Linked DNA regions of Homo sapiens: all the other regions are linked to region 1. The links are contacts of gene promoters, found by promoter capture Hi-C in blood cells and fetal thymus (Javierre and others, 2016). All regions are on one chromosome and are shown on one strand. The core of a region is centred on a gene start or on the middle of the fragment in contact, and the rest is flanking DNA. Distances in the headings are between cores, read along the strand shown. Region 1 holds the start of MON1A (MON1 vesicular trafficking associated A). Region 2 overlaps RNF123 (ring finger protein 123). Region 3 overlaps IP6K1 (inositol hexakisphosphate kinase 1). Region 4 overlaps IP6K1 (inositol hexakisphosphate kinase 1). Region 5 overlaps RBM6 (RNA binding motif protein 6). Region 6 holds the start of CDHR4 (cadherin related family member 4).

What was found. The method cuts DNA at HindIII sites, captures the fragments that hold promoters and counts their contacts. A CHiCAGO score of 5 or more calls a contact.
Region 2: a contact is called between a fragment that was not itself captured here and the fragment with the promoter of MON1A in region 1, in 4 of 17 cell types (endothelial precursors, megakaryocytes, fetal thymus and 1 more). The highest score is 10.1, in endothelial precursors.
Region 3: a fragment that was not itself captured here is called in contact with the fragment with the promoter of MON1A in region 1 in 1 of 17 cell types (endothelial precursors); the score reaches 5.1 in endothelial precursors.
Region 4: a fragment that was not itself captured here is called in contact with the fragment with the promoter of MON1A in region 1 in 1 of 17 cell types (endothelial precursors); the score reaches 5.1 in endothelial precursors.
Region 5: a fragment that was not itself captured here is called in contact with the fragment with the promoter of MON1A in region 1 in 1 of 17 cell types (endothelial precursors); the score reaches 7.1 in endothelial precursors.
Region 6: a contact is called between the fragment with the promoter of CDHR4 here and the fragment with the promoter of MON1A in region 1, in 1 of 17 cell types (endothelial precursors). The highest score is 5.5, in endothelial precursors.

Annotation. Positions count from the first base shown.
Region 1 is chr3:49,927,527-49,931,553 of GRCh38, reverse strand. MON1A (MON1 vesicular trafficking associated A) reads left to right here and starts at 1,743. Exons shown (of 6, transcript NM_032355.4): 1 at 1,743-1,945. RefSeq lists a silencer at 1,687-2,036. The HindIII fragment of the contact is 4,855 bases long and covers 1,203-4,027 here.
Region 2 is chr3:49,700,249-49,704,275 of GRCh38, reverse strand. It overlaps RNF123 (ring finger protein 123), which reads right to left. Exons shown (of 39, transcript NM_022064.5): 13 at 3,924-4,027; 14 at 3,712-3,804; 15 at 3,567-3,640; 16 at 2,668-2,785; 17 at 2,366-2,465; 18 at 2,132-2,193; 19 at 1,871-1,942; 20 at 1,523-1,643; 21 at 748-849. Among named protein-coding and RNA genes, the nearest start is that of RNF123, 13 kb to the right of the region's middle. RefSeq lists a silencer at 426-720. The HindIII fragment of the contact is 173 bases long and covers 1,765-1,937 here.
Region 3 is chr3:49,726,984-49,731,010 of GRCh38, reverse strand. It overlaps IP6K1 (inositol hexakisphosphate kinase 1), which reads left to right. Exons shown (of 6, transcript NM_153273.4): 5 at 2,733-2,908; 6 at 3,356-4,027. The coding sequence ends at 3,889. Among named protein-coding and RNA genes, the nearest start is that of GMPPB, 5.0 kb to the right of the region's middle. The HindIII fragment of the contact is 6,459 bases long and covers 1-4,027 here.
Region 4 is chr3:49,769,141-49,773,167 of GRCh38, reverse strand. All of the region lies in intron 1 of IP6K1 (inositol hexakisphosphate kinase 1), which reads left to right. Among named protein-coding and RNA genes, the nearest start is that of IP6K1, 15 kb to the left of the region's middle. The HindIII fragment of the contact is 1,335 bases long and covers 1,413-2,747 here.
Region 5 is chr3:50,061,582-50,065,608 of GRCh38, reverse strand. It overlaps RBM6 (RNA binding motif protein 6), which reads right to left. Exons shown (of 21, transcript NM_005777.3): 15 at 3,501-3,647; 16 at 483-578. Among named protein-coding and RNA genes, the nearest start is that of RBM5, 25 kb to the left of the region's middle. The HindIII fragment of the contact is 1,270 bases long and covers 1,208-2,477 here.
Region 6 is chr3:49,797,919-49,801,945 of GRCh38, reverse strand. It overlaps CDHR4 (cadherin related family member 4), which reads left to right and starts at 2,073. Exons shown (of 19, transcript NM_001007540.4): 1 at 2,073-2,182; 2 at 2,509-2,699; 3 at 2,790-2,952; 4 at 3,029-3,120. The coding sequence starts at 2,134. The HindIII fragment of the contact is 36,577 bases long and covers 1-4,027 here.

The DNA of each region.
Region 1 (4,027 bases), core at 494-2,993:
CTCACTTCAGACTTGATCTCCTGGGCTCAAGTAATTCTTCCTGCTTCAGCCTGTGGAGTAATTGGGATTACAAGGCTGTGCCACCAAGCCCAGCTCATGGCTCAAACTCTTATAGTGTAATAATTAGAGAAAACAACTGTATAAATGATTCTTGCCCTAAGGGAGGGAACTTGGACTTCTGAGCTAATGAGGAGATAAAATACTGAGTGATCTGTGGAGACCTGGAGAGACTCTCAGTTAAGGAATAGGGCATTTTCTTATGTCCTTACCTAAAAGTGGGGGACATGGGGGTGAGAAAGCTTCCCTTAGACTATGTGCAAGAACTTGATAGCCTTATGCAAAGCCATCTTCAGTGAAAGGCCACAGCTTTGTCACCATGTCAGTCACAGGCCAGTGTTGTGGAAGCAGGCTACAAGTGGCAGCCATCTGAGACTGGAAGAAAAGCCCAGGGGCGGAGCTCTACCCTAACTCCAGTGTAGGGCTTAGAGAGGAAAAGGACACTGCCCCCAGGTGCTTGTGGAGCAGCAGGGAAAGTCAGAGGAGTGATCTGACTTTTTTTTTCATCCTATTAACTTTTGGGAGAATTAACCATAAGGCTGTAAAGTGAATTAATTGCTTCAGAAAAGAACATGAGCAGTGGTGCCAAACACTAATTTTACTTTTTAAAACCATCTCTAAAAATAAGGGTCTTTTGGGAGAGCCTGTTGTTGACTGTTTTCCTGTTGTTTTTATTGCTTTGCGTCTAGGAAATTACAAACAATGATTCTTTGCAATGGTAAATCACCTGGGGAGCTTTTAAAACAATAGTGATGCCTGGCTCCCCAACACTCCACCCTACTCTAAATTCAATTAAATCAAAATCTCTAGGGCTGGTGTCCAGGCATTAGTTTTTTTGTTGTTGTTTTTGAGACAGGGTCTCGCTCTGGTGCTCAGGCTGGAGTGCAGGGCATGATCATGGCTCACAGCAACCTCGACCTCCTGGAATCCCACTTCAGCCTCCCGAGTATCTGGGACTACAGGCACACGCCATCAAGCCTGGCTAGTTTTTGTATTTTTAGTAGAGATGGGGTTTCACCATGTTGGCCAGGCTGGTCTGGAACTCCTGACCTCAAGTGATCCGCCCACCTCGGTCTCCCAAGTGTTGGGATTACAGGCGTGAGCCGCCTCGCCCGTCCTAGTTCTTTTTTTTTTTTTTTAAAGCTTCCCGGCTTATTCTATGTGCCGTCAGAGTTGAGAACTACCGTTCTAGAGCATTATACTGATACATTAAAACGTGGCTACAAATATGTTTTTAGAAACAATTAGTGCGACTTTTGCGCATGCCCACATCCTTTACAGCCTGTGTGGCTGGGCCCACTAATGACATTTATCCAGTCCCCCAAACTTGCACTGTCCTTCCACAATCAGTGGGAGAAACAATCCTAACGTCCCTTTCTCTCACTTGAAATGAACTGCTAGCTGGCTCGGACGGAGAGGCCCAGAGTCCAGGGCTGTTCTGTGTGGGACTCTAGACTCGGAGGAGGCGCCCAGGCCCCTAGAAGGCGGCGCCGGATGAGGCAATCGCGGACCCGGGTCAGGACCTGCCCACGGCTCTGCTGGGACTAGGAGCCCAGAACCAGTCCCTCGGCGCCGCAGGCGGCCAAACGCTAAGGACTACATTTCCCACAATGCACCCCGGGGGCGGGCCGAGTCGGGCTGAGCGGCTGGAGCTGGGCCTTGGCCGCGAGAGGCCGGCGAAAGCTATCTTCCTGCACCGGCGGCCGGGTGAGGGCGGTGGGAGGGAGCGGTGCCTGCGCTGTGGCCATGTCTGTGTACGCAGGGGGCCGGGGCCCCGCGAAGCTGTGCCCTCAGGCCGGCCCCGGCCGGACACCCTTACCCCTCCATGGGTCCGGCAGAGGGCAGTGACCGGCACCTTCTGTGCGTCCTGGACTCCTCTGAGAAACAGGTGAGTTGACTGCCAGCCCACGTGGCCTGGAGGCACCTAGAGACTGGAGAGCTGTCATCTTTGGAGGGAGGGGCTTGAAGACGGGGGCCTCCAGCCATCAACGCTATCGTTTGCAATGGGAAGACTGTGTCTCCCTGCGGTCCCTCAGCCGGCTAGTCCCCAGCTGGGGAATACAAAAGGCGAGATCTGGAACCCATCCTTTGGCTGGGAGGGCGAGATCCGGTAGGGGGCAGTGGCCAGGTAGGACTCTCCCCACTCCCCCACCCCCGCCCCGCCAACAAACGTACACATATTCGGCCGGTAGAGTCTTCTCAAAAAGCAACAGAGGTAACTGGGATGAGCGGGGCAGCACCTGGAAGGGGCTTGGGTCTTTGCTTTGTTGTTTTTAGACGGAGTTTCACTCTTGTTGCCCAGTCTGGAGTGCAGTGGTGTGATCTCAGCTCTCTGCAACCTCCGCCTCCCAGGTTCAAGCGATTCTCCTGCCTCAGCCTCCCGAGTAGCTGGGATTACAGGCATGCGCCACCACGCCCAGCTAATTTTTTGTATTTTTGTATTTTTTTAGTAGAGACGGGGTTTCACCATGTTGGCCAGGCTCGTCTTGAACTCCTGACCTCAGGTGATCTGCCTGCCTCAGCTTCCCAAAGTGCTGGGATTACAGGCATGAGCCACTGCGCCTGGCCGGACTTTGCACCAGTTTGCCTGGTGCAACTGGGTTGTCCCTTGTACTGGGTGAGCCACCCTTTCTGGGCACAAGTTTGCAGAGGGAGAGTGAGCACCCTTTGTCAGGGAGGGAAGTAACCGCCAGAAGTGACAAGGACCAGACTGTGATCTCAGCATGGAGTAGGCATCCTGCTGAAGCAGCCATAGCACAGCCTCACCTGGGCCTTGTCTGCCACACATCCTGTATCCTGGCACCTCCTTTCCAGACAGGCCGCTCCAAAGGGTTAAGGTGAAATGAAGTGCTATCCAAGCAAGAAGAGGGAGCAGGAGTGGTAGGGAGTCAGTAGGGAGGGGCTTCTGAAGGCCTTCTCTGCTCCAAGGCTGCCTGAGTGAGAGAGGCACACTACAAGGGCTGATTGAGCCAACTTGTTTGGTGACATTGCTCACAGGCATAGCAGGGCACTTCTAGGAAAAGCAAGGCCTGGGGCTTCTAGAGGGGTTGTCTGAGAAGGGTTCCCTGAGAAGGGGCATCTGGGGCTGGTTCTAAGAGACCTCCTTTGCCTAACTTCTTCAATTCTAGCCTCCCAGGAGCTTCAGTTGCACAGTTGTGGCTCCAATGGGGGTTGGGGTGGATTTTGCTGTGATTCACTCAGCCTCCCTGTCTGAGTTTCCAGAGTAAGTATTCAGAGAGCTGTTTGCTTCATCAGGCCTCTGGCTGGACCCCAGACTGACCTAGGAGATGCTGAGATACTGTATGATCTCAGGTGGCAGGAGAACTATTGTGAAGGAAGCATCCACTAGCTCTGGCCAGCTGATCTGGCCCCCGCCAACCCTTCCCCATGCAGGTACCGTGCTGGGTACCACTCAGCCACACTGGGCTTAGTCAGCTAAAGCCCACAAGGGATCAGTGGAGAGTGGGCCCTGAGGACAGAATAAGTAAGCTATTGTAGACCTTGTTTGGGTCTTTGAACCAAAAGTGCAACGTCACAGAGCAGTGGCATGTGGCAGACCAAGGAGTTTTTTGTTTTTTTTTGTTGTTTTTTTTTTTGAGACAGAGTTTCAATCTTTTGCCCAGGCTGGAGTGCAATGGCGCGATATCAGCTCACTGCAACCTCTGCCCCCTGGGTTCAAGTGATTCTCCTGCCTCAGCCTCCTGAGTAGCTGGGATTATAGGCGCCTGCCACCATACCTGGCTAATTAAGGAGTTTAATTTAGGAGATACTTCCAAGAGCAGCAGAGAGCCCGTTGTCTATTCCTGCAACTCCAGAGCCAGTGAACAACCAGTTAGCCTGGAGGAACTCCCAGCTGTCTATAAGACAGCTCTTTGACCTGACTCCCAACTGTCTATATGATAGCCCTAGCCTGAAGGTGAGTCGCTTCAGGCTAGGGCCCACCTGGCTTTGCAAGGTCAGAAGCGTATTT
Region 2 (4,027 bases), core at 602-3,101, 230 kb after region 1:
AAAAGGAGATGCCAGGGCTGCTTCATTCTGGGCACTCCCAGTGGGAGCCAAGCCTCATCCCAGGCTCATCCCCACCACCGTGCTGACAACTGACCCCGCCTTCGCTGCCCCCCGCCCAGGCCTTGCTCCCCGCTAAACGCGCTGTGTCCAAACAGAATTTCTCATCTCCACCACCTCCTGCAGCCCCTCTCCCTGATGGCACCCCATCCACACAACCTCTGGCAGGAAGCCTGGGGTCATCCTGACTCCTCTCCTCCACCTGTGCCCTCCCCTACCTACCTGGGCAGGCCCTTATCTCCTGTGTGGGGACACCTGGGCTCCCTGTCTCTCAGCCCCTGCACTCCGGCGTATACACTGCGGCAGCCAGAGAGAGGTTCTGACAGCACAGACCCACCCTTGTGCCCGGCTCAGGGCCTTGCTCTCGCTGTGCCCTCAGCCCTGCACCGGGGCAGCTTGTGCTCATCCCTGAAGGCAGCTCCGGCAGCACCTGCACGCCCCATCCACACCTCACCAAGATCCCTGGTCCCCTGCCAGGCACGCCCGACCCCTATGGCGTGGGTGCTGGCGGGAAAGAGAAGCTGCCCAGATGTAGGGCAGGCAGATCAGTGTCTCCCTGCCTGAGTGGGTGGAAAGACTTGGGCACCCTCTGGTGGCCATAGGATGGCTCAGCATCCACAGCAGAGCAGGCTCAGGGACAGTCCCCCACCTGGCCCCAGAACTGCTCCCGGCCCACAGGCCTGTACACACCTTTGAGGGTCTTCCGCAGGTGCGAGAGGAGGCCCCCCAGGCGCTGCAGGTCAAAGTAGTCCACCTTGCCATTATAGAAGACCTGGGGCGGGATGTAGGCCTCTGCGAGGAATTGAGGAGGCTAGGCCAGTGGTCACGGCCCAGTAGGAAGACCCTCCCCACAGCCCTCCCCTCCAATCTGGCCTAGCACAGCCTGGGAATTCTGGCTTTGGCCACTCACCCATCCAGGCAGACAGAGAAACTGTCTCCTGGACCAAGAAACAGACCTCCCCTACCTCTTCTCCACCCCTGCCATTTCAGGTCAGAGCCAGCAGCTGCATAACTTGGGGTGATGGGGGTACTCATGGCAGCCGTTCACTCAGGAGAAGCAGAGAGGCCCAGCCCCAGTCCTGTGGGATATCCCCCAATCCAGGGCAGGTAAGGCTCCCACTGACCCTTGGGGACTCAAACACAGGGCCCCCCAGCACCCACCCAAGGCAGCCCTATAAAGGACGCACAGAGAAATGGGGGGGCAAGGACGGAAGAAAAGAGCCCACAATGGTAGGAGCCCGTGGGACAATCAGAGCAAACACAGGATCGGCAGGCCTGCGGTGCAGGGCTCCTGCTGCCCCAGTGGAGAAGCCGCCTGTGGCTGGGTAGGACTCAACCAGGCAGGATGCCGGGGACAACTCCCCACAGCCCACAGCCTCAGCTCAGCACTCTGCACTAACATTAGGGGCTGCCCTACGCCTGGCTCTGTCCAGCCTCACTGACCTGGGACCCCGGTGCCACTCACCCTCACTGAAGGAAGCATGAGGATTGGAAGCCTTGTATTCATCCCAATAGTAGCGCAGGGCAGAGATCAGCCGGTGTAAGAAGCAGACCATGTACTCAGGGGGGCAGAGCATGGGCATGTTCTGTGGACACCAGGCATGAAACATGCATTGGTGCCAGTCCAGTGCCTTGCCCATTCCTCATCCAAGGCCCTGCCTGAGGGTCGAGGGTTAAGCAGGGAGGGAAAAGCAGCAGAGAAAAGCTTGGGGCTAGGCAGGGATGAGGCAGTCCGAGAAGTGCCAGGTGCTGAGGGCATGGCATGTGTAGTGCAGCCGGGGATCCACAGTGGGCTGGCCTGGAGGACACCTACCCCCCGGCCACTGGCGTTCTCCTGCAGAAACTTGCGAAACTTGGTCAGGAAGATATACCTAGAAGCTTCACCCTTTGAGAGAGGGAAAAGTGAGGCTGTGCTGAGCTGAGAATGCAGGCCCAGACTGGGCTGGCTCAGTGCTGCACCTTCCCCCAGCCCCTGCCATGGGAACCAAACCCAGTTCCCACCCTCTGGGTCTTAAGGCCCAGTGCAGCATCCCTCCCCACAGGGCCCCACCCAGGGCTCCTGGGAGTCACTCACCCCATTGTCATCTTTATTGTCCAGCAGCAGCTTCAGGATCTGGACCTGTAGTTCTTCCACCACTGGAGGTCAGGTGAGGAACATGGCCCTCAGGCTCCAGGAGATGGGGGGCAGGTTTGGGCCAGGGCTCCACCACCAGGGTTCCCCAAGTCCCACCTAGACATGGGCACCTCCAAGCACCCTCATGTGCACACACACACCTCCCACCCTACCCCGTGCCCAAGGCGGGCTGACCTTCGATGCGCTTCCTGAGCCGCTGACAGCCCCGTTCGTAGGCTCGCCGCCGCAGCCGCTCCTCTGCGGTCTCCTCCTTCATCTCCGTGCTCTCTTTGCCCTAGGCAGGGGTAGCAGGTGGAATACAGCAGGGTCACCTGGGACCTAGCCAGGCCTCCTTCACTCAGAACACCCACACTCCATCTCCAGGGCTTCAGGGACCAGGGCCAGTGAAAAGGCCTCATGCTAGATGCCCAGTGGCCAGATGCCCAGGCCAGGGGCCTTGCCATGACCTCTGCCCATCCCACTTGGGGTGCACTCACCTCCCTACTGGAGCAGTGGGGCCACCAGGTGGTGGGAATGAGCTCCTGCAGGCCGGCCTCCTCCACACGCAGGGGGCTCTTGATGTAAAAGAAGACGACGGAGCGGAGCACGTCGAAGCTGGCGGGTGTCAAGGCAGGGCTCTGCTTGCCAAAGGGCACTCTGCACACCCTCAAGAGTCCTTCCCCAGGAGCCCATCCCTGGATGTGCCTACCACAGCTCTCCCACCACCACAGGGGCATGTTGCTGCTATGTGTCTGACCCCCAGGGCATGCTCCCTGACAAAAAGCTGTGGTGGTTAAGCCCACCAGCTCCAGTACCCAGCAGGTGCACGATAAGGGCTTGTCACAGGAACAGATGACTGTGGGACAAGCTGGAGAGAGGGACTGGTGGCCTTTTCTCAGGCCCCAACTCTGACCTCTGTGTCTCCCAGCTTTGTGTCTGCCTCCTGGAGGCTGGAAGACCCCAGACCAAGAAAACGGCTACAAGCTGAGGCTTCCCAGCCAGGGGCTCAAAGCTATGCTCTCACTCACTCATGCAGTTCCCAACAATTCTGGGAAGCAGGAAGAGCTGCCTCCTTAAAGATCTTGCAGGAATCCCCACTGTGGAACATGAACAAAAGTGCTGGGCTGTGGCCGAAGAGGGCAGGCCCTGTGGCCCCTCCCACACCTCTGCGTAGCCCGAGTCTGCAGTCATTCAGAACCCCCTGGCTAGGCTGGCTGGCCAGGCTCAGTCCTTTGCTCTCTCGTCCTTGCTCTGTAGAGAAAATGCCACGTTGGGCAGCTCTGGTCCTCCTGATGCTCCCAGGGGACCCCTGGCCTGATGACACTCCCCTTCCTGGCCTCTGCTGAGTCCAGAGGGCACCCCATGTCTGGCCTGCCAGGCAGCAAGGAAAGGATACAGGACATTGCTAAGCAGAAACTTGCGGGACTTCTCATGCCTCAGGATGGCGATAGTGAGCCGCAGGTAATGGATCTGTGGAGAGGGGGCGTTCAGAGTGGACAGGCGAGTCCCAGGGGGCTCAGGGCAGGGGTAGGGGCTCCCACCTGTAGGCCCAGGTCTGGGACAATGGGTGAGAATCGGTACAGCCGAAGCAGAGACATCATCAACTGCTTGAGGCAATCTTGTACCTCGTAGTCCTGGGGGAAGAGATGCCAAGGCAGCCATGACTGGGGCCTTTTCCAAGATTCTCCCCGTATCTTCCCGACCCCAGTGAAGACTGACAGCCAGGCCTGAGGCCTGAGGTCAGGAGCCTCACCTCCATGAAGAGCCACAAGAGGTCCAGGACCTGGTGCACCACGGACTGTGCCTGTGTGGGTGTGCCCTTCTCCACGATGCCCAGCAAGAAGCTCATGAGCACAG
Region 3 (4,027 bases), core at 399-2,898, 200 kb after region 1:
AGAAATATAAATCCAGGCTCATTCCTGTAATCCCAGCACTTTGGGAGGCCGAGGCCGGCAGATCACCTGAGGTTGGGAGTTTGAGACCAGCCTGACCAACATGGAGAAACCCCGTCTGTACACAAAATTAGCCAGGTGTAGTGGTGCATGCCTGTAATCCTAGCTGCTCGGGAGGCTGAGACAGGAGAATCATTTGAACTCAAGAGGCGGAGGTTGCGATGAGCCAAGATTGCGCCATTGCACTCCAGCCTAGGCAACAAGAGTGAAACTCCATCTCAAAAAAAAAAATACAAAAAATTAGTCGGGCATGGTGGCATGCGCCTATAGTTCCAGCTACTTGGGAGGCTAAGGCAGGAGGATCACTTGAACCTGGGAGGCAGAGGTTGCAGTGAGCTGAAATTGTGCTACTGCACTCCAGCCTGGGCAAAGGAGCAAGACTGCATCCTAAAAAAAAAGAAAAGAAATGTAAATCCAGCTTTTTCTAAAGATTCCTATTTGGGAATGTTAGAATCTGGTTTCCTTGTTTTTGTAGTAGTGCTACCAAGATGTCTTCCTTATTTCTTAGGCCTGGGCAAGGTGCTGGCTTGAGTAGGGCCTTGGTTCACTGATGGTGAGGGATGTATCCAAATCTTTAGTTTGCATATTGCCTGCAAGATAGGTCTAAAGATAACATAGGCTGGGTGTGGTGGCCCACATCTGTTATCTCAGCACTTTTGGAGGCCAAGGTGGGAAGATCACTTGAGGCTAGGAGTTCAAGACCAGCCTGGACAACATAGTGAGACCCTGTCTCTAAAAAAAACATTAAAAATTAGGTAGGCGGCTGGGCGCGGTGGCTCATGCCTGTAATCCTAGCACTTTGGGAGGCCGAGGTGGGCAGATCACCTGGAGTCAAGAGTTCCAGACCAGTCTGGCCAACATGGTAAAACCCTGCTCTACTCAAAATACAAAAAATTAGCTGGGGGTGGTGGCAGACACCTGTAGTCTCAGCTGCTTGGGAGGCTGAGGCAGGAGAATGGCTTGAACCCAGGAGGCAGAGGTTGCAATGAGCTGAGATTGCACCACTGCACTACAGTCTGGGTGACAGAGCAAGACTCTGTCTCAAAAAAAATAATAATTAAAAGAAAAATTAGGCATGCCTGTAGTCCTAGCTGTTCCAGAGGCTGAGGGTGGGAGGATCTTTTGAGCCCAGGTGGTCAGTGCTGCAGCGAGCTCTGGATCCAGCCACTGCACTCCAGCCTGGGCAACAGAGTGAGACTCTGTCTCAAAAAAAATAATAAAAAATAAAAATAAATAATAATAATAAGGCTGGGCACAGTAACTCTCGCCTGTAATCCCAGCACTTTGGGAGGCCAAGGCAGGCAGATCACTTGAGGTCGGGGGAGTTCAAGACCAACCTGACCAACATGGAGAAACCCCGTCTCTACTAAAAATACAAAATTAGCCAGGCATGGTGGCACATGCCTGTAATCCCAGCTACCGGGAGGCTGAGGCAGGAGAATCACTTGATACCAGGAGGCGGAGGTTGCGGTGAGCTGAGATAGTGCCATTGCACTCCAGCCTGGGCAACGAGCGAAACTCCGTCTCAAAAAAAAAATAAAATAAAAAATAACAAAAATAAATCAACATAAAAATACCCTAGAGCTTAGGTTAAAAAACCAAAAAACAACAACAAAAAAGTTTGTGATATATACATACAATGGAAAATTATTTAGCCAGAAAAAGGAATGAAATTTTGATACATGCTTACAACATAAATGAATCTTGAATACATTCTGCTAAGTGAAATAAGCCAGACATTTAAAATGACAAATACTGTATAATTCCACTTATGAGATACCCAGGAAAGGTAAATGTATAGAGACAGAAAGTAGACTAGAGGTTCCCAGGGGCTGGGAGGAGGGAAAATGAGGAGTCACTGTTCAGTGCTATTTAATGGGTACAAGCAGGAAAATGGCTTGAACCCCCTGAGACAGAGGTTGCAGTGAGCCGAGATGGCGCCATTGCATTCCAGCCTGGGTGACAGAACGAGACTCCATCTAAAAAAAAAAAAAAAATTAGGCATGCCTGTAGTCCTAGTTGTTCCAGAGGCTGAGGGTGAGAGGATCTCTTTTCATTTTGGGAAGATGAAAAAGTTCTAGCTGGGCGTGGTGGCTCACACCTGTAATCCCAGCACTTTGGGAGGCTGAGGCAGGCGAATCACAAGGTCAGGAGTTCGAGACCAGCCTGGCCAACATGGTGAATCCCTGTCTCTACTAAAAATACAAAAAATGAGCCGGGTGTAGTGGCGGGCACCTGTAATCTCAGCTACTCAGGCAGCCGAGGCAGGAGAATAGCTTGAACCTGGGATGCAGAGGTTGCAGTTAGCCGAGATCACTCCAGGGCACTCCAGCCTGGGTAACAGAGCGAGACTCCGTTTCAAAAAAAAAGAAAAGTTCTAGAGATAGATGGTTGTGAGTAGAGATAGATGGTTGTGATGGTTATACAACAAAGTAAATGTACTTCATGCCACTGAATTGTACACTTAAAAATGGCTGAAGTAAATTTTATGTATATTTTACCACAGTTTTTATTGGTTAAGTAATAAGCCAGTGGTGTGAAACCCATATTTGAGAGTTTGAGACAAGTACATACTGCATTAGGTAAAAGCCCCCTTTTATAGAAAAACTGGGTTGTGCTTTCCTGGCTGGGGCTGATGGTGAGTGTGGTTGTCATTCTCCTTGACCGTGGCCCAGAGTTCCTCCTGCTTGAGAACGTGGTGCACCACTTCAAGTACCCCTGCGTGTTGGACCTGAAGATGGGCACGCGGCAGCATGGCGATGACGCGTCAGCTGAGAAGGCAGCCCGGCAGATGCGGAAATGCGAGCAGAGCACATCAGCCACGCTGGGCGTCAGGGTCTGCGGCATGCAGGTGAGTTACCTCTGCTCAGAGCCTAGGTGCTGCCACTTGCATGATTTGGGTTGTGCTCATACCTGCCTGCCATCTATGCCAAGTGTGTCCTCCTGAGCCCCTCTGTCCTTACCTGTTGACTTTGATATGGGCCTCAGGTGCAGGACCACTGTGAGAGTCTGCTGCCTCGACATTGGGACAAATAAGACTCTTGCCTGTCAACAAGATGTTCCGATGTTGGAGGAGGGCTCCAAAGCTGGGGGCAGGGAACCCATAGGCCTGGTATTGCTTTCTCTTGGTTCTGCAATGGGAAAACCCAGGGTGAATGTGGCCTGCCTGGTTCCACTTAGATAGGTGAGCAGAAAAGCTCAGGTTGGTCAAAGTCCCTTCCAGACAGTGTTTGCCCAGGGCACTGTGAGCTCTTCAGACTTCCCTGGCACTCACCCTGTCTGCCTCCTGGGGTTTCAGGTGTACCAGCTGGACACAGGGCATTACCTCTGCAGGAACAAGTACTATGGCCGTGGGCTCTCCATTGAAGGCTTCCGCAATGCCCTCTATCAATATCTGCACAATGGCCTGGACCTGCGACGTGACCTGTTTGAGCCTATCCTGAGCAAACTGCGGGGCCTGAAAGCTGTGCTGGAGCGGCAGGCCTCTTACCGCTTCTACTCCAGTTCCCTGCTTGTCATCTATGATGGCAAGGAGTGCCGGGCTGAGTCCTGCCTGGACCGCCGGTCTGAGATGCGTCTCAAGCACCTGGACATGGTGCTCCCTGAGGTGGCGTCATCCTGTGGCCCCAGCACCAGCCCCAGCAACACCAGCCCCGAGGCGGGTCCCTCCTCTCAGCCCAAGGTGGATGTCCGCATGATTGACTTTGCACACAGCACATTCAAGGGCTTCCGGGATGACCCCACCGTGCATGATGGGCCAGACAGAGGCTACGTGTTTGGCCTGGAGAACCTCATCAGCATCATGGAACAGATGCGGGACGAGAACCAGTAGGCCCTGTTCTGGGCCCCCAGAACCCCTTCCTCTCCACTGCAGGCAGGGACCATTGTTCTGAACTTGCCGTGAGGACACACAGACTTGCTTTTAAAGGGTTATATTTCTCTTTGGTGTAAACTAAAAGAAATGTTTTTA
Region 4 (4,027 bases), core at 831-3,330, 160 kb after region 1:
CTTTTCATTGGTAGAATTGGGACTATATACAAAATTATTAATTGGCCAGGTGCAATGGCTCATGCCTGTAATTCCAGCACTTTGAGAGGCTGAGGCAGGAGGATCAGTTAAGCTTAGAAGTTCAAAACCAGCCTGGACAACCCAGCAAGGCCCGCTTATCTACCAAAAAATAAACAATTAGCTGGGCATGGTGGGACATGCCTAAAATTCCAGCAACTGGGGAGGCTGAGGTAGGAGGATCACTTGAGCATAGGAGTTGGAGGCTGCAGTGAGCAGTGATCATACCACTGCACTCCTGCCTGGGTGAGAGTGAGACTCTGTCTTTAAAAAAAAAAAAAAGCTCAAGAGTTCAAGACCAGCCTGGGCAACGTAGTGAGACCCTGTCTCTATGTAAAAAAAAAAAAGAATTATTAACTGTAACAGAGACTGGAGTAATGAGAAATTGGCTAGTCAGAAGTAGAGAGAGGCTGGGTGTGGTGGCTCATGCCTGTAATCCCAGCACTTTGGGAGGCTGAGATGGAAGGATCACTTGAGTCCAGGAGTTTGAGACCAGCCTGGGCAACATGGTGAAACCTTGTCTCTACAAAAAATAAAAAAATTAGCTGGGTGTGGCAGCATGTGCCTATAGTCCCAGCTACTAGAGAGGCTGAGATGGGAGGATTGCTTGAGACCAGGAGATGGAGGCTGCAGTGAATCATGATCGTGCCACTGCACTTTAGCCTGGGTAACAGAGTAAGACCCTGTCTCAAAAAAGAGAACGCTCTAGAATATAAGAAGACAATATATGTATATATAGCCTTCTATATATATATATTTTATATATTATATAGTCTTCCTATATATTATATATATAAAATATATTAAGTTAAAAAGGAAGACTATATAACATATATATTACATATATATGTGTTACACACACACACACATATATATATATATATATTTTTTTTTTTAAGGGAAAGGGTCTTGTTTTGTCACCCAGGCTGGAGTACAGTGGTGCAATTATAGCTCACTGCCACCTTGAACCCACCTTGGGCTCAAGGGATCTTCCCACCTCAGCTTCCCAAGTAGCTGGGACTACAGGTGTGCACTGCTGCACCCAGCTAATTAAAAAAATTTTCTGTAGAGGTCTTGCCATGTTGCCCAGGTTGGTCTCAAACTCTTGGGCTCAAGCGATCCTCCCTCTTTGGCCTCGCAAAGTGTTGGGATTACAGGTGTGAGCCACCACGCCTGGCCACTCTTGAGTAAGGTTTCTTTCACACAGTGTAGTGTTTTAATTTATACATGCTGTTGTCTGTATCAGTAGTTTATTTTTATTGCTATATAGTATTTCATTGCATTAACACTACAGTTTGTTTATTCTGTTGATAGATATTTGGGCTGTTTCCAGTGTTTGCCTTATGAGTAAAGCTTTTATGAACTTTTTTGCAAAGGTTTTTTGTGTGGACATACACATTCATTTCTCTTGAAGAGACTAGAATTGCTGGGTCATAGGATAGATGTATGTTTAGCTTTATAGGAAACTATAATACCTTTTCCAAAATGGTTGTACCATTTTTACACTCTCACCAGTAATGTATGAGAGTTGTGGTTGTTCCACATTTAGCAACATTAAGTGTGTTGTAGTGTGTTTTTAATTTTAGCCATTTGGGTGAAAGTATAGTGGTAACTCATTGTGGTTTTAATTTTCACTTACCTGAATGCTAATGATATTGAGCACCTTTTCCTGTACTTAATGGTCTTTGTGTATCTTCGTTTGTGAAGTATGTATTCAAATCTGTTGCCCATTTTTTTTTAAAATTGGCTTTTTTATTTTTTAAAGAAATGTATCTTTTAGAGATAGGGCCTCCCTATGTTGCCCAAGCTGGACTTGAACTTCTGGGCTCAAAGGATCCTTCTGCCTCATCCTCTCAAGTAGCTGGGACTATAGGTGTTCACCACTGTGCCTGGCAGGGTTTTTTTTTTTTTTTTTTTTTTTTGTTACTGAGTTTTAGGAAGTTTTTTTGTATTCTGGATACTATATTTTTTGTTTTTTGTTTTGTTTTTTTAGAGACAGGGTCTTGCTCTGTTGCCCAGGCTGGAGTGTAGTAGCGTGATCATAACTTAGTGTACCCTCTAACTCCTGGGCTTAAACGACCCTCCTGCCTCAGCCTCCCTAGTAGCTAGGACTACATGTGCATACTACCATGCCCAGCTTATTTTCTTTTTAAAAATTTTTTGTAGCAACGGAGGTCTCAGCATATTTGCCCAGGCTGATCCTGAACTCCTGACCTCAAGCATTCCTCTTGCCTGGGCCTCACAAGATGCTAGGAATACGGGTGTGATCAAGACTCCATCTCATAAATAAATAATCAGAGGTTTTCAATTTTGATGAAGTCCGATTTATCAATAATTTCTGTTATGGTTATTGCTTTCTGTGTTCTGTCTGAGTGTCTGAGGACACCTTGCCTACCTCTTAAGTGTTGGACATTTCTAGCAAGGCTTGAAGTCAGGTAGTGTAAATCATATAACTTTATTTTTTTTGAGACAGGGTCTGGTTCTGTCACCCAGGCTGGAGTGCAGTGGCATGATCTCCGCTCACTACACCCTCCACTTCCTGGGCTCAAGCCATTCTCCCACTTCAGCCTCCCGCGTAGCTAAGACTACAGGTGAGCTCTGCACACCTTGGCCTCCCAAAGTGCTGGTATTATAGGTATGAGCCACCATGCCCAGCCTAACTTTATTTTTTGTGTTTTCACCTACAAGCTTTCTAGTTTTAGCTTTTACATTTTGGTCTCTGAGTCATCCTAAGTTAATTTTTGTTATTGTGTGAGATTGGGGCTGGTGTTTCTTTTTCCCCCACATAGATAACTGATTGTTCCATTACTAGCAACATTTGTTGAAAAGACTTGTGTATTATCTATTGCTCTGTAACAAATTATTCCAAAACTTAGCAGTTTAAAACAGCAAACAGTTATTACCTCAGTTTCTGAGGGCTAGGAATTCAGAAGTGGCCCAGGCTAGAGTGAAGTGGTGATCACAGCTTACTGCAGCCCTGGCCTCCTGGGCTTGAGTGATCCTCCCAACTCAGCCTCTCAAGCTGGAACTACAGGCATGCACCACCATGCAGGGCTAGTTTTTTCTATGTTTTGTAGAGATGTTGCCCAGGCTGGTTTTGAACTCCTGGGCTCAAGTGATCTTTCCCTGTTGGCCTCCCAAAGTGTTGGGATTATAGGCCTGAGCCACCATGCTTGGCTTAGAGGATCTGTTTTCAAGATGACTTATTCATAAAGCTCTTTGCAGGAAGCCTCAGTTCCATATTGTTTATCTCTACCCAGGGCTTTTGTTTGTTTGTTTTTAAATTTTCCCTACTTTAAAGCTAACAAGTTATACACAGGGCTCTTTGAGTTTCCTCATGGCGTGCAGTTATCTCCTACAGAAATGATCTAAGACAAAGTAAGGAAGAAACCATGAAGCCTCTTATGACCTAGTCATACACTGTCACTTCTGCCATATTCTTTTCATTAGAATGAGTCCCTAAGTCTAGCCTGTACTCAAGGAGAGAGGAGGATTTCACTTTTTAGAGGGAAGAATGTAAAAAAATTTGACATAGTTTAAAACTACCAAAATTTTCTCTCCCCATTGGTTTGCTTTGGTACTTTTGTCGAAAAACAATTGACTGTTATATCCTGATTTGTCGCTGGCAAAAATCCCAAAAACAATTGACTCTGTAGATATGGGCCTGTTTGTGAAATCTGTGTTCTGTTCCATTGATCTATTTGTTTATCCATATGCCAGTACCCCACTACTGTAGCTTTATAGGAAGTCTTGACATGAGGCAGTGTAAATAACCCAACTTTATTGTTTATCAAGATTTATTTGAATATTACAGTTTCTTTTTATTACCATATAAATTTTAGAATTAGCTTGTCAATTTCTGTAAAAAAGTCTCCTGCCATTATGGTTGAGATTCCACTGAATTTATAGATTCATTTGGGGAGAATTGACATCTTAACTATATTGAGCCTTCTAATCCATGTGCTGTGTG
Region 5 (4,027 bases), core at 593-3,092, 130 kb before region 1:
GATTAGGTTGAGACTACTGCTTGAAGGCATCTAAAAAATGGGCACCAATATTAGCATCATTCACTCTGAACAGGCAGAAACTATAAAAAAATGACCACGCATGCACTCCATATCTAAGAGATTCTTGTGTGATGCCAAAAGGCAGGAAAGATTGAGGCTGAGAAAACGGGTTTCCTTGGTGATTTAGAGAACTGACAAGAACAAGATGATAAAAAGGGCTAGGCATCTCGTCTGGTAAGAATGGCACAGGGCAGAGAGAAAGAGTCCAGATAACTGCCTCTGGTTCTCCAGTAATACCCCCATTAGCAGACAGAAAACTTTATCTCATGCTTGTACTCAAAAGAAATGGGAATCCTTATTCGGGAGACATAGTGAGGTAAAAGACCAACACCAGAGGAAGGCATCAGCCTTTGCGCTTCCTCTTCTACTCGGAACCATCCCCAGCCCCAGCCCTAGGTCCAGGGGATCAATGTTGGTCTTACTGGAGGGGGACTCTCTTCCTTCTTCACAGTAGGAGGCAGGGGCTTCTTAAAGACGTCTTCTGCAGGGGCCTTCCCTTCACTGGCATTTTCCTGAAACTGATCAAACCAGAGGTAACTCTCACATGATATTCACTCATAATAACTGATAAAGGCTGGGCTGGGTGCGGTGGCTCACGCCTATAATCCCAGCACTCTGGGAGGTCAAGGCAGGTGGATCACAACGTCAGGAGATCGAGACCACCCTGGCTAATGCAGTGAAACTCCATCTCTACTAAAAATACAAAAAATTAGCTGGGCGTGGTGGCGGGCACCTGTAGTCCCAGTTAGTAGGGAGGCTGAGGCAGGAGAATGAACCCGAGAGGCGGAGCTTGCAGTGAGCCAAGATTGTGCCACTGTGCTCCAGCCTGGCCAACATGGTGAAACCCCGTCTCTAGTAAAAATACAAAAATTAGCTGGGTGTGGTGGTTTTGGCCTGTAATCCCAGCTACTTGGGAGGCTGAGGTAGAAGAACTGCTGGAACCTGGGAGGCAGAGGTTGCAGTGAGCCGAGATCGTGCCACTCCATTCCAGCCTGGGTGACAGAGAGAGACTCTGTCTCAAAAAATAAAATAAAATAAAATAAAACGTTAGTATATATTGCATGATTACTGTATGTCAGACCAGATGAGGCATGTATATATAAACATTGTCTTCTTCAGACTTTACTATGATCCTCCTATGTAAGCTTTACTATCTTAATTTTACAAATGATTGGGAATATAGTTTGACAGATTAAGTGGCTGAAGCAGAGTCCAAATATTAAATCAGTATGACTCTAAGTTTTTAAACACACACACACACTCTCTCTCCTCTTTTCTGTATCTCTAAACAACTAACAGTGTTAGAAGGGGAAAAAAAGGCTGGGCGCAGTGGCTCATGCCTGTAATCCCAGCACTTTGGTAGGCTGAGGTGGGCGGATCACAAGGTCAGGAGTTCGAGACCAGCTTGACCAACATGGTGAAACCGCGTCTCTACTAAAAATACAAAAATTAGCTGGGCGTTGTGGCAGCGCCTGATATCCCAGCTACTCAGGAGGCTGAGGCAGGAGAATCCCTTGAGCCTGGAAGGCGGAGGTTGCAGTGAGCCGAGATAGATCACGCCACTGCACTCCAGCCTGGGCGACAGAGCGGCTCCGTCTCAAAAGAAAAAAAAGGGAAAAAAAGGTGTTATGAATTGAATCACAAGCAAATTCATCCATTTTCACTAATGCATAACTGATATCAAGGTAGGTGTGATCTTGGCTCACTGCAACCTCTGCCTCTCAGGTTCAAGAGATTCTCCTGCCTCAGCCTCCTGAGTAGCTGGGACTACAGGCTTGCGCCACCACGTCCAGCTAATTTTTGTCTTTTTAGTAGAGATGGGGGTTTCACCATATTGGCTAGGCGGTCTCAAACTCCTGACCTAAAGTAATCCGCCTGCCTTGGCCTCTCAAAGTGCTGGGATTACAGGCATGAGCCACCATGCCCGGCAGATTTTCTTTTTTTTTTTTTTTTGAGACAAGTCTGGCTCTGTTGTCCATGCTGGAGTGCAGTGGCGCAATCACAGCTCACTGCAATCTCCTGGGCTCAAGCGATCCTCTTAACTCAGTCTCCCAAGTAGCTTGGACTACAGGCATGCATCACCACAGTAGGCTAATTTTTTTTGTATTTTTGGTAGAGATGGAGTTTCACCATGTTGCTGGTGTCAAACTCCTAAACTCAGGCATCCACCTGTCTTGGCCTCCCAACGTGCTGGGATTACAGGTGTGAGCCACTGCACCCTGCCTAATAATTTGATTTTGTATTAGATGTAAAAATGTTCATCATCTCTGATTCTGAAAATGTGTCATAGGGAGTAATTTAAAAGAAGAAACAAAATGCTAAATGTTATATATTATGACAGTATAAGATTAGAAAGAGGCGAGCAAGGTGGGTCTTGCCTGTAACTGAAGCACTTTGGGAGACTGAGACAGGAAGCTTACTTGAGGCCAGAAGTTCGAGATCAGCCTGGTCAATCTAGCAAGATCCTGTCTCTACAAAAAAGCAAAAATTAGCTGGTCATGGTGGCTCATGCCTGTAGTCCCCGCTACTTGGGAGGCTGAGGTGGGAGGACTGCTTAAGCCCATGGGTTTGACGTAGAAGTGAGCTATGATCATGCCACTGCACTCCAACCTGGGAGACAGAGGAAGACTTTGTCTCAGAAAAAAAAAAAAAAAAAGGAAAAAGAAAAGATTAGAAAGAGAAGACAAATAATGTAGGAGAGATGAAGAAAATGAAGGTACAGTTATACCGTGAATTTTTACCATGTGGGCATTAAAAATAATAGAGTATATAGAAACATGGAAAAAATACTTAGGATAAAAAGTGACTAAACAGTATCTCCTGCTATAATTACAACTAGAGAAATGTGTATAAAGTCAAACACTAAAAAAGGAATGTAGAAAAGTGAAAATGTATGGAGCTGAGGTGTTGGGATTTGAGCTGGGCCACTTTGTTCTACCATCCATAGTTTTCCCATTTGTAAAAGAGAGAGTTGGGATATAAGAGGTGAGGGAATTGCCTACACCAGGTAAAAATACTCATTAACAGAGGTTTTTTTTTTTTTTTTGATACAGAGTCTTGCTCTGTTGCCAGGCTGGAGTGTAGTGGCGCGATCTCGGCTCACTGCAACCTCTGCCTCCAGGGTTCAAGCAATTCTCCTGCCTCAGCCTCCTGAGTAGCTGGGACTACAGGCGTGTACCACCACACGCAGCTAATTTTTGTATTTTTAGTAGAGACAGGGGTTTCACCATGTTGGCCAGGATGGTCTCGATCTCCTGACCTCATGATCCGCCCGCCTTGGCCTCCCAAAGTGCTGGGATTACAGGCGTTAGCCACCACGCCCGGCTGACAGAGTATTTTTAAAGTTACTTTACACTTGCAAACATAGATATCCTCTGTTCGTACCTCCAACATTTTAATAACTATGTGGCAAAAGACAGCAAATTAACAATTCCTCTTACCCTCGTCACTCCTCTGTCTTTTTTCTCCTTGCCATCTCTTTTAGACATTTCCTTCTTGCTACTTGACTTTCCTTGACTGGTGGGTTTTTTTTCCTTGATCTCTTCTTCCTCAGGTAATCCAGGATCCTGGGGCACATAGACTTCTTGCTGCGATACAGTTGGAAACAAGTAAGTCTACAGAATGTTTCAGTTTCCCAGCAATTCCAGGTCTAAGGCGCACAGTTCCCTTTTAGGGGAAGAAACAACTTTTTTACTTACAAGTCTAAGAAGAGTCCACATCAATCTAAAAACCCACTCCAGGGACCAGGACACATTCAGACCACCCACTGTCCACTTTTTCAAGAGCAACACTGTTCTTACCTGTATTGCCACAAGGCACTGATTTTCCATATAGGCAACAGTTCTGTTTCCATAGATCTAAACTTTTCCACTTTTCATGCAATGAGCATCCAGAGAATCCAGGGAATAAAATCCTCAAGTAGCAAATTATGGGTGCTTTTCTCAAAAGAATCATTGACAGAGGTAAA
Region 6 (4,027 bases), core at 824-3,323, 130 kb after region 1:
TGTGATGAGGAGCAATGGGGGCCTTTGAGCAGGAATGACCTGGGCTAGCCCTTGTTTAGATAATCCCAGCTGCTTTCAGAAAAGGATTCTGCAATAAGAGTGGAAGTCCCTGCCCTCATCCAGGCAACGAAGGGGAGGGCCTAGGCCTGGGCAGGGCAGGTGCACTGAAGGGGGTCACTTTGGGGTATGTTTTGGAACTAAAATCAAGTCTTGCTGATGCATGGATGTGGGCAGGAAAAGAGGCATCAAGCATGACTCCTACATTTCTGGCATTAACAGCTGGTTGGATGAAATTGCCATAAACTGATCTGGGAAAGACTGGAGAAGAGTGGGTTTGGAGAGGAAAATCCAATGATCATTTATGGACACGTAACCCTTGAGATGCCTGTTAGACATCCAAGAGGAGTTGCAGAGTCAGCTGCTAGGTGTATGACTCTGGACTTCAGGAGAGAGATCAGCACTGGAGCCTTGGATCTGGGAGGCATAGTGAGTGAATGGATGGTATGTAAGGCCATAGGCCTGGATAAGGTGGGGTGGGAGGAAATCAGTGTAGTCAGAGGGAGACAGCAATCGGGACTGTGCCCTGGGACATTCCATGAGGTGGAGGTAGGGGAGATATGAAGCAGAGCTATCAAAGAAGCTGAGCAGGAACAGCCAGGAGAAATCTGAGAATGTGGGGACTCAGGACCCAAGGGGAGCAAGCATTGAATGCTGCCTAGGCAGTGAGGGTGAAGAACAAACCACTGGATTCGGCAGTGCATAGGTCACTGGGAACCCTGACAAGGGCAGTTTTGTGTAGAGAGGGACAAGCCTGATTAGAGTGTGTGGAGAAGAGAGTGAGGACTGAAGAACTGGAGATGGCAAATAAAGACAACCGTTTTTGTTTTTTTTTTTGAGACAGGGCCTCACTCTGTCACCCAGGCTGGAGTGCAGTGGCATGATCTTGGCTCACTGCAGCCTCCATCTCTGGGGCTCAAGTGACCCTCCTATCTCAGCCTCTCAAGTAACTGGGACTACAGGCATGTGCCACCACACTCAGCTAATTTTTTTTTTTTTTTTTTTTGTAGAGACAGGGTTTCACCATGTTGTCCAGGCTGGTCTCGAACTCCTGATCTCAAACGATCCTCCTGCCTCAGCCTCCCATACAGGCATAAGCCACCGTGCCTGGCCAGAAAACTTAAAAAAACTGACATATAAATACAATAAATAGACAGATCTCAAAGTTACAGCCCAGTAAATGTTAAAATCTGTAGACACTTGTGCAGCTGCCACCCAGATATAGAACATCCTCAGCAACTCCTGGATGCCACCTGGTGCCCTATCCAACTGATATTCCCAACGGTAACCAGTATTTGTATTTCTATCATAAAGGATTCCTTTTGCTTGTTGGATGTAGACAACTTTTTTTTTCTTTTTTCTTTTTTTTTGAGACAGGGTCTTGCTCTGTCACTCAGGTTGGAGTACAGTGGCACAATCATGACTCACTGCAGCCTCGATCTCTTGGGGTTCAAGCAATCCTCCTACCTCAGCCTCCAGAGTAGCTGGGACTACAGGCCTGGATCACCACACCCAACTAATTTTTTGTAGAGATGGGGTCTCACTTTGTTGCCCAGGCTGATATTGAACTCCTGAGCTCAAGTGATCCTCCCACCTCAGCCTCCCAAAGTGCTGGGATTACAGATGTAAGCCGCCACACCCAGCAAGTTTTGAGAGATTTTGTTGACGGTTGGGCTCATTTTTTATAGGCAGATAATGTTCTAATGGAGGGGGTCCAGCTGGAGTTGAGACTCTGTGGGGTAGCAGGTCCTGGGCCAAATTTTCCTGGGTGCTGTGCTTGCTCTATCTCCACGGATTGCATGACCAGTTTCCTCATCTGAACCTTAATCCTCCTCCCCTTCCATGCCCTTAGAGTTGTAATGAATGGGGGCAATGGAAAATGGGATATTCTGAGCCTCTGGAAGCCTGCCAGAGGTCTAGAACTCAGTCACCAGGGATGGGTGGGGATAGAATCTGGGAGGCCCAGGAGTCCCGCCTGCCCAGCTATGTTTGAGCAACTGACCTGGCAACAGGGTGAGTCAGACAAACAGCCTAGCTTTCTGAAGCCTCCTCTGCTGTCTGTGTCTTCAGGTCATCATGGTGCTGCTCAGGCTCCTCGTGTTCCTCTTTGCTCCGGTGGTCTCTGGTGAGGAGGTGGTGGGTGGGGGAACCGTAGTTTTCCCTTGGAGTCCTGACCCTTCCCAGATAAGCTACCATGGAGGACAGGGATTGGGGGAGAGGTAGGAAAGTGTAAGAATCTGAACCCCTGGCCCTCACCCCTTCTCTTGGCCACTTCCTCAGTCAAGTTCTCACTCCCCATCTGTGAAATGCTGGATGCTGGATACAAGGAAAGGCCTTAGCTGCTTGGCCCCATGGCATGGCCAGGCCCTGTGGCAAAAGGACAGGACTATGCTAGTATGTGTGGTTCCATCAGCCTGGGGGCCTCCAGCCTGAATTCTCTGCTCTTCACAGACCTCTGCAGCCTGCCCTGCTTTATAAATGTCTCTGAGAGCCAGGGCCCTGGCACAGTCCTTCAGTTTTTATCCTTCAACTGCTCCTCCTACACGCCCACACCCACCCTGGAGTTGCTCAATGTCCAGCCACCCACCACCTTCTTCAACCCACCCAGCTTGGCCAGGTGGCAAGGGACCTATGTGGGCAAGGTAGGGTCATGTGTACAGCTGGGGACTGTGGGGGCACAAGGGCAGACCTAAAATTTCCAAGCCCCACATGGCACTGTCCACCCACCCCAGTTGACCTTGAGCAGCTCTGCTCAGTTGGATGCCCTGATGGTGAACCACTACAAGGTGCAGCTGAAGTTCACATGTGGCAACCATGTGATGGAGGGCTCACTCTCTGTGGATGTGCAGCGGGACCTTAGCCATATCCAGTGTGCTGGTCAATTTGCCAGCCCAGGTGAGGCCAGGGGCAGCCGGCAGGGTGGGGGCAGGCATGGCCTGAGCAGATCCTCCCTGACCTCCACTCTGGCCAGCTGGGGAAATGATTCAGGTGCCAGAGACAGTCACACCTGGGGCTCGGCTGTACACTCTGCTCCTCCCAGGCCTAGAACTCCACGGAGCGCAGGTAAGCCCAGAACATGGGACGGTGGGTGACAGGATGGGGGTGGGGGGATGGAGAGAATAAATTAACCCCCACCTGGCCAGGCACAGCCTGAAGAGGAACCTTGCAGCAGAGGCATAGATGAGCCTCTACATGATGTATGTTCTTGGAGAGAGCTGCTGAGGGCTGCTCACTCCCCAGTGACCATGGCTGTTCCCACAGGGACATCTCAGGGGCTGAGTTCTTTTTTTTTTTTTTTTTTGAGACGGAGTCTTGCTCTGTCGTCCAGGCTGGAGTGCAGTGGCGCGATCTCGGCTCACTGCAAGCTCCACCTCCCAGGTTCATGCCATTCTCCTGCCTCAGCCTCCCGAGTAGCTGGGACTACAGGCACCCGCCACCACGCCCGGCTAATTTTTTTGTATTTTGTAGTGGAGACAGGGTTTCACCGTGTTAGCCAGGATGGTCTCGATCTCCTGACCTCGTGATCTCCCCACCTCGGCCTCCCAAAGTGCTGGGATTACAGGCATGAGCCACCGCTCCCAGCCAGGGGCTGAGTTCTTTCAAGATCTGCTATGTGTTCTCAGTTCTTTATGACAATTCTGTATCATTTCTGTAATCAAAAAAAAAAAAAAAACAAACATGTAGGTAATGGCCAGGCACGGTGGCTCACACCTGTAATCCCAGCACTTTGAGGGGGCTGAGGCAGGTGGCCTCAGGAGTTCGAGACTAGCCTGGCCATCATGGTGAGACTCTGTCTTTACTAAAAATACAAAAATTAGCCAGGTGTGGTGGCGTGTGCCTGTAATCCCAGCTACTTGGGAAGCTGAGGCAGGAGCATCGCTTGAACCCAGGAGGTGGAGGTTGCAGTGAGCCAAGATTGTGCCACTGCTCCAGGCTGGGTGACAGAACAAGACTCTGTCTCAAAAAAAAA